Regions from separate parts of the Homo sapiens genome. Here regions 1 and 3 are each linked to region 2. Evidence: promoter capture Hi-C in human tissues and cell types (Jung and others, 2019). All regions are on one chromosome and are shown on one strand. Each heading gives the region's core, a stretch centred on a gene start or on the middle of the fragment in contact. The rest is flanking DNA. Distances are from core to core; before and after follow the strand shown. Region 1 holds the start of LOC124901253 (a long non-coding RNA gene). Region 2 holds the start of F13A1 (coagulation factor XIII A chain). Region 3 overlaps F13A1 (coagulation factor XIII A chain).

Evidence for each region. Contacts are between HindIII fragments. The study calls those that stand out against the background at their distance.
Region 1: a contact is called between a fragment that was not itself captured here and the fragment with the promoter of F13A1 in region 2, in 1 of the 25 tissues and cell types used here (pancreas).
Region 3: a fragment that was not itself captured here is called in contact with the fragment with the promoter of F13A1 in region 2 in 2 of the 25 tissues and cell types used here (aorta and stomach).

Annotation. Positions count from the first base shown.
Region 1 is chr6:6,285,032-6,288,755 of GRCh38, forward strand. The region is part of intron 3 of F13A1 (coagulation factor XIII A chain); the gene reads right to left. It overlaps LOC124901253 (a long non-coding RNA gene), which reads left to right and starts at 856. Exons shown (of 2, transcript XR_007059428.1): 1 at 856-909. The HindIII fragment of the contact is 5,107 bases long and covers 1-3,724 here.
Region 2 is chr6:6,318,596-6,322,124 of GRCh38, forward strand. F13A1 (coagulation factor XIII A chain) reads right to left here and starts at 2,067. Exons shown (of 15, transcript NM_000129.4): 1 at 1,992-2,067; 2 at 1-87. The coding sequence starts at 69. The region is part of intron 1 of LOC124901253 (a long non-coding RNA gene); the gene reads left to right. The HindIII fragment of the contact is 8,313 bases long and covers 1-3,529 here.
Region 3 is chr6:6,269,292-6,273,362 of GRCh38, forward strand. The region is part of intron 3 of F13A1 (coagulation factor XIII A chain); the gene reads right to left. Among named protein-coding and RNA genes, the nearest start is that of F13A1, 49 kb to the right of the region's middle. The HindIII fragment of the contact is 4,937 bases long and covers 1-3,919 here.

The DNA.
Region 1 (3,724 bases), core at 925-3,424, 33 kb before region 2:
TCAAAAGTTTGAAACCAGCCTGGCCAACATGGTGAAATCCCGTTTCTACTAAAAATACAAAAAATAAATTAGCTAGGCCTGGTGGCGGGCACCTGTAATCCCAGCTACTCAGGAGGCTGAGGCAAGAGAATCACTTGAACCTGGGAGGCAGAGGTTGCAGTGAGCTGAGATCACGCCACTGCACTCCGGCATGGGCACCAGAGCGAGACTCCAACTCAAAAAGAAAAAAGACAGAGATGGGGTCTTTCATTCCTCTTAAACCCCCTCTGGGGTGTCACAAACTGCTGGACACAGCAGAGGTTTCTGCATCACAAATTCACTGAACCAGACATGGGACAAGATGTTATAGAGATTTGTAAACAGAATTGGAAAGGAAATAGACAAGGAAGTTGAAGAAGCCAAAGCAAAACCTCCAACAGTGCAGAGAAGGAGCATCCCAATGGCTAAGCTAGGCTTTAGCCAGAGATGGGCAGCACATTTAGCACATCCAGCCCCAGCTTCCTGAAGGCTAAAGAAATGCTCATGAACAGACACAAAAACGGTCAGACCCACCTCCCAAGGGTAACTCCCATTACTTCTCTAACAAATGAGTAAATACCTATGCTACAGTAGGTACCTAGTCAGGCATGAGTAGGGGAGGAGAGGGCTTCCCCCACTACGCACACACCAGGAATGGCAGGCGACCATCAGGTGACGGTCATTGTTAAACTGTCCTTCTAAAATAATAATTGGTCCCAGCCAGTGCTAGGGAAGGGCAGTCTCCCAATAAACAGAAATACCTGAAACTGGTGATCAGCAGCTTCCCAATAAAACCTCAGCAGTTGGGTGAGTGGGCTCAGGCATGCGCACTAAGAGCCAAAATGGCGGAATTTAACCAGTATGTGGCCTTCCTCCAGGGACACTCAACTGGTAAGGAAAAAATGCATCAAGTGGTCACGAGTACAACACTAGTAAACGCACTGTGCATGCTCCGCTTCTAAGCGCTAGCAGGCCACTGCACACGCAGACACACCACTTAAGGGAAGAATCACAGGAGTAGGGACGCAAGACCCCAGAAGTATGCCAACAGGTAAAACCTGAAGTCAGTCAGGTGCGGTGGCTCATGCCTGTCATCTCAGCACTTTCAGATGGATTATTTGAGGTAAGGAGTTTGAGACCAGCCTGGTCAACATGGTGAAACCTCATCTCCATTAAAAATACAAAAATTAGCCGTGTGTTGTGGCAAGTGCCTGTAATCCCAGCTACTGGAGAGGCTGAGGCAGGAGAATCACTTGAACCTGGGAAGTGGAGGTTGCAGTAAGCTGAGATCGCGCCACTTCTCTCCAGCCTGGGTGACAGAGCAAGAGTCTGTCTCAAAAAAACGAACAAAAACCCTAAGTCAAAGTCAAACTGTACACTTGTCTTTCAAGTTACCCACTTGGCCCTTTTCCAAGTGTATTTTCTTTCCTTTCATTCCTGTTCTAAAGCTTTTGAATAAACTTTCACTCCTGCTCTAAAACTTGCCCCAGTCTCTCCTGCCTTATGAGGAGGCAAGAATTGAGGCTGCTGTAGATCCATGTGGATTCACTGCTGCTAACATACTTTGGTGCTGTGGGACTCCAGTACATTTGCTGCCACTAACACCTAGACGTGCATCCACAGGACAGTGTGTATGTATGCATGAGAGACAGACAGAGAGGAAGAGCAAGACAGAAACAGACAGGCCGGGATGAAAGTAATAGAAATCTTAAGAAAGAAGAGAAAAGATCAGAAAAGAGGCCAAGATACTGAGAAGAAAGAGGGTGAAGAGGGTAGCAAGAGAGAGGTACAGCTATTTATAGCCTGTCTTATGGTTGTGTAATACCTGTCTGGCTCTGGCTGCTGTTATAGTAGCATTTTATGAAGGTTATCCTTCCTTAAGGAATACCATAAGAATTTAGCTTTCCTACATAGTTGCAATATTGAAAATAAGGCTGGTAATTGGGTCATCTTATTAGGAAGGAACTATCACGAAGCAGTTCAAAGAGCTTCCAGTTATTCCCTCATTAATCCTTACAACATGCTTCTGGAGTAACTGGAGGGCAAAGATGAAGAATATTTAGTCCATTTGGATCCTTTCTTTAGTGGGCTGTAATTCCACTTGCATGCTCTCTTTTTAGATTAGAGACTCAAGAGCAAGTTATCGCAGTGGGCACATTTGTTTTCATTAAATATTTTCCCCCACCTTTTTCACCTCTTGCTTCATATGCTGCAAGAATGTCTTAGAATTTATGTGGAAAAGCCAGGGAATGCCCACAGTCCGTCCTCCCTGAGTTCAGACCAGCGCTTTCTGGTGGAGTACAGTTTCAATTATGTGGGTGCAAATGAGCCACGTTTATGAATTCTTGTAAGTGAAAGAGGTCATCATAAGATACAAGTGTGAAGACAGAGAGAAACAGACATAGGAGCAAGGGTGAAGGCAAATTAGGGGAATAGGAAAGAGGGGAGAAAGCACAGGAGGCAGTCAGGGAGGAAGCGTTTGTGGATGTTCTGAGTGTTCTCATTCCGATACCCATGGCCCTTCATAAGTGCTCTGTGTGGCACCCTTAATGTGACAAAGACATCAGCGACTCTATTACCCTAGGGACCATAAGCTTCACTGGGAAACTCCAGCTCTGCAGACATGATGTGGGTGACAGGGCAGGGCTGAGGAAGCACATGGTAAGGTCTCTGGCACCAAAATATGGATGGCAATCCCACCTACTTTGAGATTAAACTGTTTCTGTCACTTCAGCTAGAACTATGGGCAAATAATTCCAGGCAGAACTTGGCCTGTGGATTGTCAGAGCCCCTATGTGACTAATGAAGCTGTCAGAATGGATGTAACAAGGAGACTGGGTATTTCTGTTGGGAGGTTCAGTGATGGTTGTCTTTGCCACCAGGAGACAAAAGACATGAGAGCAATGCCCTCCTATTTGCTTTTGGAAGCATTTTCTTTGTGCGTGTGTAGATGTTTTTTAAAAAATAGACAATCACTTATGGGGAATCTATTGGGATACAATGTGAAGTTTTGATCTATGTATACATTGTAGAAAGATTCAATCAGCTAATTCACATGTTTATTACCTTACATAGTTACCTTTCTTTTCTATGTACATGGAAAAAAGAAAGGTAACTGTGGTGAAGACATTAAAAATCTATTCTTTTAGCAATTTTGAAATATACAATACATTATTTTAAACTGTGGTCACCAAGCCATGCAGTAGATCACTAAAACTTATTCTTTCAGTCTAACTGAGACTTTGTACCCATTGATCAACATCTTCTTTTTCCTCATTCCTTGCCCCCAAGCCCCAGCCTCTGGTAAACAACTTTCTACTGTGTTTCTGAGATTGACTTTTTCAGATTCCACATATAAGTGAGATCATACAGTATTCATCTTTCTGTGCCTGGCTTATTTCAGTTAGCATAGTGCTCTCCAGTTCTACCCTTGTTGAGAATGGCAGAATTTTCCTTCTTCTAAGGGCTGTATAGTACTCCATTGTGTCTATATACCACATTTTCTTTATCCATTGGTTAGGTTGCTTTCATATCTTGGTTATTGTGAGTGATGCTGAAATGAACATGAGACTACATACATCTTTTCAACATCCTGATTTCAATTTTCTTTAGATACATACCCAGAAGTGGGATTGCTGAATCACGTTAGTTCTATTGCTAGTTTTGTGAGGAACTGCCACACGACTTTCCAAAACAGCTGCCTTAA
Region 2 (3,529 bases), core at 817-3,316:
CGCTGCATTAGAGTTATTGGGTGGAACTGCTCTTCTGCCTCCAAAGGCGGTCCTGGAAGTTTCTGACATTTTTGACTTTACAAGGTCCTTCAGAAAAAAAAAAAAAAGAAGACAACAGAAAAGGCATGTAAAGTGAGTAACATTTGAGACAAGGATTCCAAAATAGAGAAACAGATATATCTGTGTGTGATAGCACTTGAGCAACACATTTTGCCGTTTGCATAAATAAAAACTGAGAAGTGGCAGCAAGGATTAGTCTAATGATGGAATACAGTTCCCCAAGGATCTTGGGGAGATTTTTGTATGTGTCAAAACATATGGAAAGCAGAAGAAAAGGGGCTTATTCAAAGAAATTTAAAAATTAAAAGATTTTTGGAGACCCAGATTCCCCCACCCTCCATAATCCTACAGCAGCATCTTCGCAAGAAATGTTTCCTGTTATATGCATGTGCTGTATCTATGTTCATTTCATACAGATTTATGAGATTATAAGTCACTTTTAAGAATAAACGCACACAACCATGTCCAGACAAATGTTGTCTTCTAAAGCGTTTACATTTGCAATTTAATTCAACCAATATTTATTGAGGGCCTATGACATGCCAGGCTGTGATCTAGGTACATGGGATACATCAGAGAACAAAACAGAATGTTTGCTCTGATAGATTATAGTCTGATAGGGTTAGGGTGGAGCCCAAGAAGAGCCATAAGTAAATCCACTTAGGGGTGAGGAGGTAGGAACTGCTTTGGAAATTGAGCCACATGGAGGAGGATAAGGAGGTGGAGAGGTTGGGCATGCAATTTTCAATAGGGCTATCAATAGGCTTAAGAAGTCAGGGTTGCCAACATTTCCCATTCCCCAAGCCTGCTTCCCCTTCCCTTGGAGCTTGTGCAGGCACTGAGCCAGTTTAAACAACACACACCTGACGGTCAGTGCCCAGTAAGTACTTGTTGACCAAATGACCAAATGAAGGGGGACTTTGTTTCTGGGCCCAGTGAAGGTTCCCCCTTGATCCCCTGGATTACCCAGTCATGACTCCTGGAGACTTGGCTATTTTCAAAAACCAGGCACACCCCCAAGAGGTGAAGAGTCCCCATTATAGAGGCCACCAGAGTAGAGAGATGGTTCCAGAGACATGTGGAGCACTAACAACATGCTGGAGAAAAGACAACCACGCCTAAGGTGTCTGGTCTGAGAAGGAGACAGGAGTGTTTGGATGCATAAGGTGTGAATGGGTATCCATAAGTATAGATAAATATATTTACAGTCATTGGTGAGCTGACGGGGGAAGGGAGGGAGAAGAGCGAAAAAGGGTTAATGATAGGGAGAAGGCTGCGAGAGCCATCCTCTAGTGAGAAATACCGAAGGTAGGCTGCGGCATTGCCAGGGGTGCAGAACAGTGTGGCGCGCTGTCGGGAGACACAGTGCTAAGGGGGAGAAGGGGGGAGCCCCAGGTGCACGCCTGGCTGGGTGAGTGCGGCGGGCAGGAGCCCTCGCTTCTGGGCGGGTCTAAGGAGGAGAAGTGGCTCGAGTTCAGCTCCAAATTGGGACGGAGGCAGGCGATGCGCAGGAGTGGGGAGGCGCGCAGGAGTGGGGAGCCAAGCCGGCGGGGTTCCAGTCTAGCAGGCTGTTCTCACTTGGCCCCACTCCCTCCACCTTTTGTGTTCCAGCTCCATAATCTGCTCCCTGAGGAAAGGGGGCTCGTCCCTTGGGGAAGCACCTCCAACTCCCCCATCCCCATTTGGTGGCATTCTAAGCAAGCAACGGCTTCGGGAGAGCTGCCTCGAGAGCCTGAGAGAAGTCCCGCTTAGAAGCTGGGCTGGGCAGGTGCGGAGTTGGGGGCGGGAAGCCAGGATTGGGCAAGTGGAGCTGCCTGTGACCGGCGCCACAGGGCCCAGAGCAAGCCGCTTGCTGGTTCAACCAGGAAACCGAGGTGCAGAAGGTGGACGCAGCGGGCCCTGGCTCATAGGGTGCAGGGTCGGTGGCTTACCTGCAGGCGCTCCCCTCCAGAGGTGCCCTCGCGTGGGCTTGCTCTGTGCGCCTCGGGGACTTCCTCAAACGGACTCGGGAAAGACAAGACAGTTGGCTCTTAAATAACTTCCTAAGAGGAGCCCTCACCCTCCTCCCCTGTCCCACAGGGTTTTCTCCTCCCCCTTCTCCACAGCTGGAGCCAGTAGGGGAGCTCAGAGGATTTTCTATTTACTTCATCTGGCCTGTTATCCCGGCAGGTGCGCCCTTCTCTCCCACTTGCCCCTCTGACTCCCAATTTCCCATTCCCACTTCTCCTCCCCATCCCCATCCCTAGATCTGCCCTCCCCACCGCAACCAGTTGCTGGGAGTACCAGGCAAGGGGCCCTGCAGTGCCAGGAAGTCCCCACCCGTCCCCTTTGGTCAGAGGGTCTGGGAGGGTTTCCTTTACAAAGGAATGCTTTTGCCTGGCAGGTCAGCTGCTACTGTGGCTTGGCAGGAGGGGGGTCTGCCCTCCCACAGACAGGTCACACAGACAGTTGTGACCATGCATGCAGTGAGAGCAACGTGTCCCTCCTGTGCAAATAAGGCATGGTCTGCATTCCTGAATCATCCCAGAGCCACAGCCACCGCCTAACCACAAGACTTCCTGCAGGAATGGGATGCCTAGCCCCAAGGAAGATGAGTAAACATCTTTAATAATGCCATGCAGATTAGAAAATAACACTTGGTTTTCTCTGAAAATCATTTTAGTGCATGTTCAAAAATTAGAAAATTTTCCCCCTAAAATTTTAATTTTTTTCTTTTACTCTTTCTTTCTTTCTTTCTTTCATCTTTCTATCTTTCAGATGAAGTCTTGCTCTGTTGCAAAGGCTGGAGTGCAACCTCCACCTCCCGGGTTCAAGTGATTCTTCTGCCTCAGCCTCCCAAGTAGCTGGAACTACAGGTGCATGCCACCATGCCCGCCTAATTTTTGTATTTTTAGTAGAGATGGGGCTTTACCATGTTGGCCAGGCTGGTCTCGAACTTCTGACCTCAGGTGATCCACCCTCCTTGGCTTCCCAAAGTGTTGGGATTACAGGCGTGAGCCACCGCACCCAGTCAAACATGGCTATTTCTAACCTTCTTTACTGTCTTCAAATTTCTGACCCTGCCACTCAATCTCCCAATGTTATAAAGAAGAAAAAAAAAGATGCCATTGGTTAGAAATTCTCTCAATTTTCTGCTACCAATCTATGAACCTGCCTGCAACCTTATCTATCTTTTCCTCTTTCTTCTTGTTACTGAAGTTGGAAAGGTCCCTCCTCCCTCTGCATCTCCAAACCAGGCTTCTGCGTTGCCTTGTTCTCCGGGGCTTTGCTGTGACTCTTACGTACTCTTCCTCTTGCAGCTTCAAGCTCCTGCTTGCTAATAGTGGGTCTTCTCAGCATTCATGCAATTTCAGGTCTCTTCAGTATTTTTTTAAAAACCTCCCCCAACCTATGTCCCCACTCCTGCTGTTACTCCTCCTCTCCTCCCCTTCATCACTAAGTATCTGCCATCTGGCTTCCGCCTCATCAT
Region 3 (4,071 bases), core at 201-2,700, 50 kb before region 2:
AGTTATCATTACTTCCCTGTTGTCCTGGGCTTTCTGATTCCTCTAAGTGATCCTTCTCTGCTCCATCTGTGGGAAATTAGGATGGGTTTACCAATTGCCAACAAACCTATCAAAGCCCAAATCTATTTCAAAGGCCAATTCATCCCAAACTAAAAAACCTTGAGCTGACTGATTTTTCCATCAGGAGAACTTGTAGAAGTAAAAAAAGAAAAAAAAAAGGGTTGCCATTTATTAGTAACCAAAAGCCTTAATAATTCCAGAATCATCATGGAGTCACCTGAAACCTCCCATTCAATCATAATTTCTGATTTTCTGAGTTGTTAATGATCAATGTAATCTCCATTCATCCTTTAGAGCAATGGTTAGAAAACTATAGTCTGCGGGCCAAATGTAGCTTACCTACTGTTTTTTTTTTTGTTTGTTTTATTTTGTTTTGTTTTGAGATGGAGTCTTGCACTGTTGCCCAGGCTGGAGTGCAGTGGTGCAATCTTGGCTCACTGCAAGCTCTGCCTCCTGGGTTCATGCCATTCTCCTGCCTCAGCCTCCCTAGTAGCTGGGATTACAGGCGCCCACCATCACGCCCGGCTAATTTTTGTATTTTTAGTAGAGACGGGGTTTCACCTTGTTAGCCAGGATGGTCTTGATCTCCTGACCTCATGATCTGCCCGCCTAGGCCTCCCAAAGTGCTGGGATTACAGGCATGAGCCACTGCGCCCAGCCTACCTACTGTTTATATAAAGTTTAATTGGAACACAGTTATGTTGATTTGCTTGTGTATTATTGTGCTACAATACAACCCTACTCTTGTAAGAGCAGAGTTGAGTAGTTGTGACAGAGTCCCTATGGTCTGCAACGCCTAACACAGTAGCTGGCCCTTACAGTAAACAATTGCCAACATCTGCCTTAGAGGATTTCACATTTTATTTATTTAAGGAGCGATTTATTACAGACTCTTGAAGTCTAACACTTGAGCCTAAGAAGAAAATACCATCACCTAGCTTCTCCTTCCAAGGAGAAATATGTTTCTAAACTATTCGCAAACATCTGTACTACTAGTAGGTCAACCTTTAGTTTCCTTAAAGTCGCCTAAATTCCCCACAGTCTCAGGGGGTGTTGAAAACATAGGAAGTTTGTAGCTTTTTATTGATTTTATGATTCATGGCTAAAATATTCAATTTTAAGATTGCAAAAGTTGTTTAGAGTTGCCAAGGCAGTTCACATAGTGATGCAAATAAAGTGACAGGAAATAAGTTTTATTTCTTGGGGTCCTTACAAAACCTCTGTGAGGAAATTTTTACAGATGGGAAACTGAGGCTTGGTGAGGGCGTCATGTGTGCACATCACATAGCTAGGCAGAAGTGGAGACAGAACTGGGGACAGGGAAGCCTGTTCTCTTTGCTCCATGTCATGCTTCCTCTGTGGAGGAAGGTGGAGAATGGCAAAAGGGATCTAGGGAGATGAAAGGAGACAAGAGAAGAATAAAACTGGAAAGTCCAAAGGAATATGAGGAAAAGGGACATTGAGAAAATATGCTGCCGTGGATAAGAGTTGTGTGAGCCAGAAATGTGGATCAAAGGAGGTAACAACTGAGTGAGTGAAGAGAAGGAAGACCAGGTGGAGAGAACCTGCATGAGGGTCTCTCTGGGCCAACTCATTTTTTTGTGATTTGCATTGGGAAGACTTCCAAAGTAATGTCAGACACCAAAGGGTGAAGGCTGAGCAATCCTGCTGATACGCTGATGCCACGTGGCCCGGGAACAGGTTATGGAAGCGTTATCAGGGACAGGGAGTGGTGAGATTAATTCCAAAGGAAGGAAAAAGAATCCTGATTGGCAGGCTTTTCATATTCCTGTATGGGAAAGCTGGTTAGGAATGTGGAACCTGATGTGCCAATAGAACCTCAGGGACTGCTCTATTACACCCATGTTTAATTCTGAATGTAATGATTTCAGTGACAGCACTGGGGAAGTACTCTCCATGATTGAATTGTGAGTGAGGAAGTTGTGACAGAGTAGTATTTCATTTCACTAAATAGCCCTTCTCAGCCCCAGGAGTCGGCATGGTTACGAGACCACAATCCAGCTACCCTGGGAAAACCCATCCATCAACATCCATGACTGCCCATCAGCTATCCTTGGCCCAATCTGGATGGAAAACATGGCTCCATACAGGGAACCTCCATGCACGTGTTTGCCTAGAGTATATAATGCCTGGATAGATGTGTTTTTCTCCCCCAAATCATGCAACTTTGCGTTAAAAACATCAGGGCAAGAAAAAGACATCGGGAAAGACAGCATCCAAGAAAGGAATCCCGTTTTGTTTTTAATAATTGCAGCCTTTGAAATTGGACTACTAAACATGAGGAAATATTATAATTACCAATTGCATTTTTTCACACTTATCAAAAACTAGTGCCATCTTCCCAAGTGATCTAGAAATTAACATATGCTCTTAGTTTCAGTGCTTGCTTCCATTTGTGAATTATTATTGAGGCCACAAAACTAATGTTTTTAAGGCAAAAGCCGCTTGGACCATATGCCTATATTCGAATGTCTCATTGTCCCTTTACTGAGGGCCTCACTCTCCTTACACAGACCTACCTTAATCCCCCCAGCTGGGATGTAGGAGGAAGAAGATGAAAATCTTTAATTCCATTTGTGATGTTACTCTTTTCCAACCTTAGCTACCTAGGCTTGATTGAGCTTTGTGCACAGTTTCTTGATATTAGTATTCTTCACAAGATAGGAAAGAGAAATCTAGCCACAGCTCAAATTCAGTGCTATGTGACCCTGGGGAAAATGTCCTCTCAACCTTTCAATGCATTCCACAGACCAGAGAGCCCACTGCACGCAAAGCCCTGCATTGGTAGTGCCCACTAGAAGAATTCATTGCCTTTTAAAAAATTAATCTTTTGGGTTAGTTGATGGCTTTGAAATATTTTTACATTAAAAATACAATGTCCTAGGTGGTGATTAGGTTCCCAGGTAGTCTAGAAAGGACATCAAATAGCACATGGTATGGTCAGTATGGTTGAATATTGTTCCTAATAGAACTGTTCTGACTCCACCTCTCTCATGCCTAGGACCTGGAAGAACATACTTGCCATCAAGGAGGGTTGGTATCAGTGACTGAGTAGACACATCTATCAATCACTGCTCCCTCTCGTGCTCCAAAATAAAGAAGCTGATAACTCAGGACACTCCCACTTCTCTCCTCTTTTGGGCATGTCATCTGTAAGTCCAGTGGCTGCAGTCTGTGCCCCTCATATGCTATACTTAGTAATAAGAAGACTTCTGGCCATATCGTTAGGGAAACGAACGTAGGAGAGCCAGGGTCACAACCTTTTTAAATCAACTGCATCTGAAAACTAGCAAGGCACTTTCCTTGCCAGTCAAAACCCATGGTCCTAAGATGTTGACAGCTAAGGAAACAACTTAGTAATGCCTGCAAGGACAAACTCCTACAACAACAGAAAGTCCAGATGTCCCAATACCCATAATGATATATACTTTCAAGAGAATTACAGTTATGCTTTGATATACTCACACACTAAAATGTCAAGGATAGTTTTCTTTAAATCAATAGAATAATAAATTTTGTCATGCTGTCATCCTACCCACACAAAAGCACAGCTTTGTTTAGTCTTTACATAGACAAGACTCCTATGTAAGAAAAGCTTAAAACAATGACAGCGCATTCCTCCACTTGCTTTCTGAGGATACCCTACTTTGTAATGGAGCAGCTTTTAATAAACTATCTCTTCTCACTGCTCTCTGTGACTCACCCTGAATTCCTTCCTGCATGAGATCCAAGAACACTCTCTTGGGGTCTGCATCGAGACCCCTTTTCCTATAACAATTATTTGCCAGAAAAGCCCAAACAAACATTTTTCTCCTTATTCACTTAGATATCTATTCCGCTTGTTAAACTGAACTGAAGACATTGTCTAATATGTCTGTATAGCTCCCATAGAATGTCACAGTGTTTTGTACCCAGTCGGTACCTAATAAATGTCAGTGAGGCTGAACTGAGCTCTCTGCAAATGGCAAGCCCCACTAAGATCATCATAGA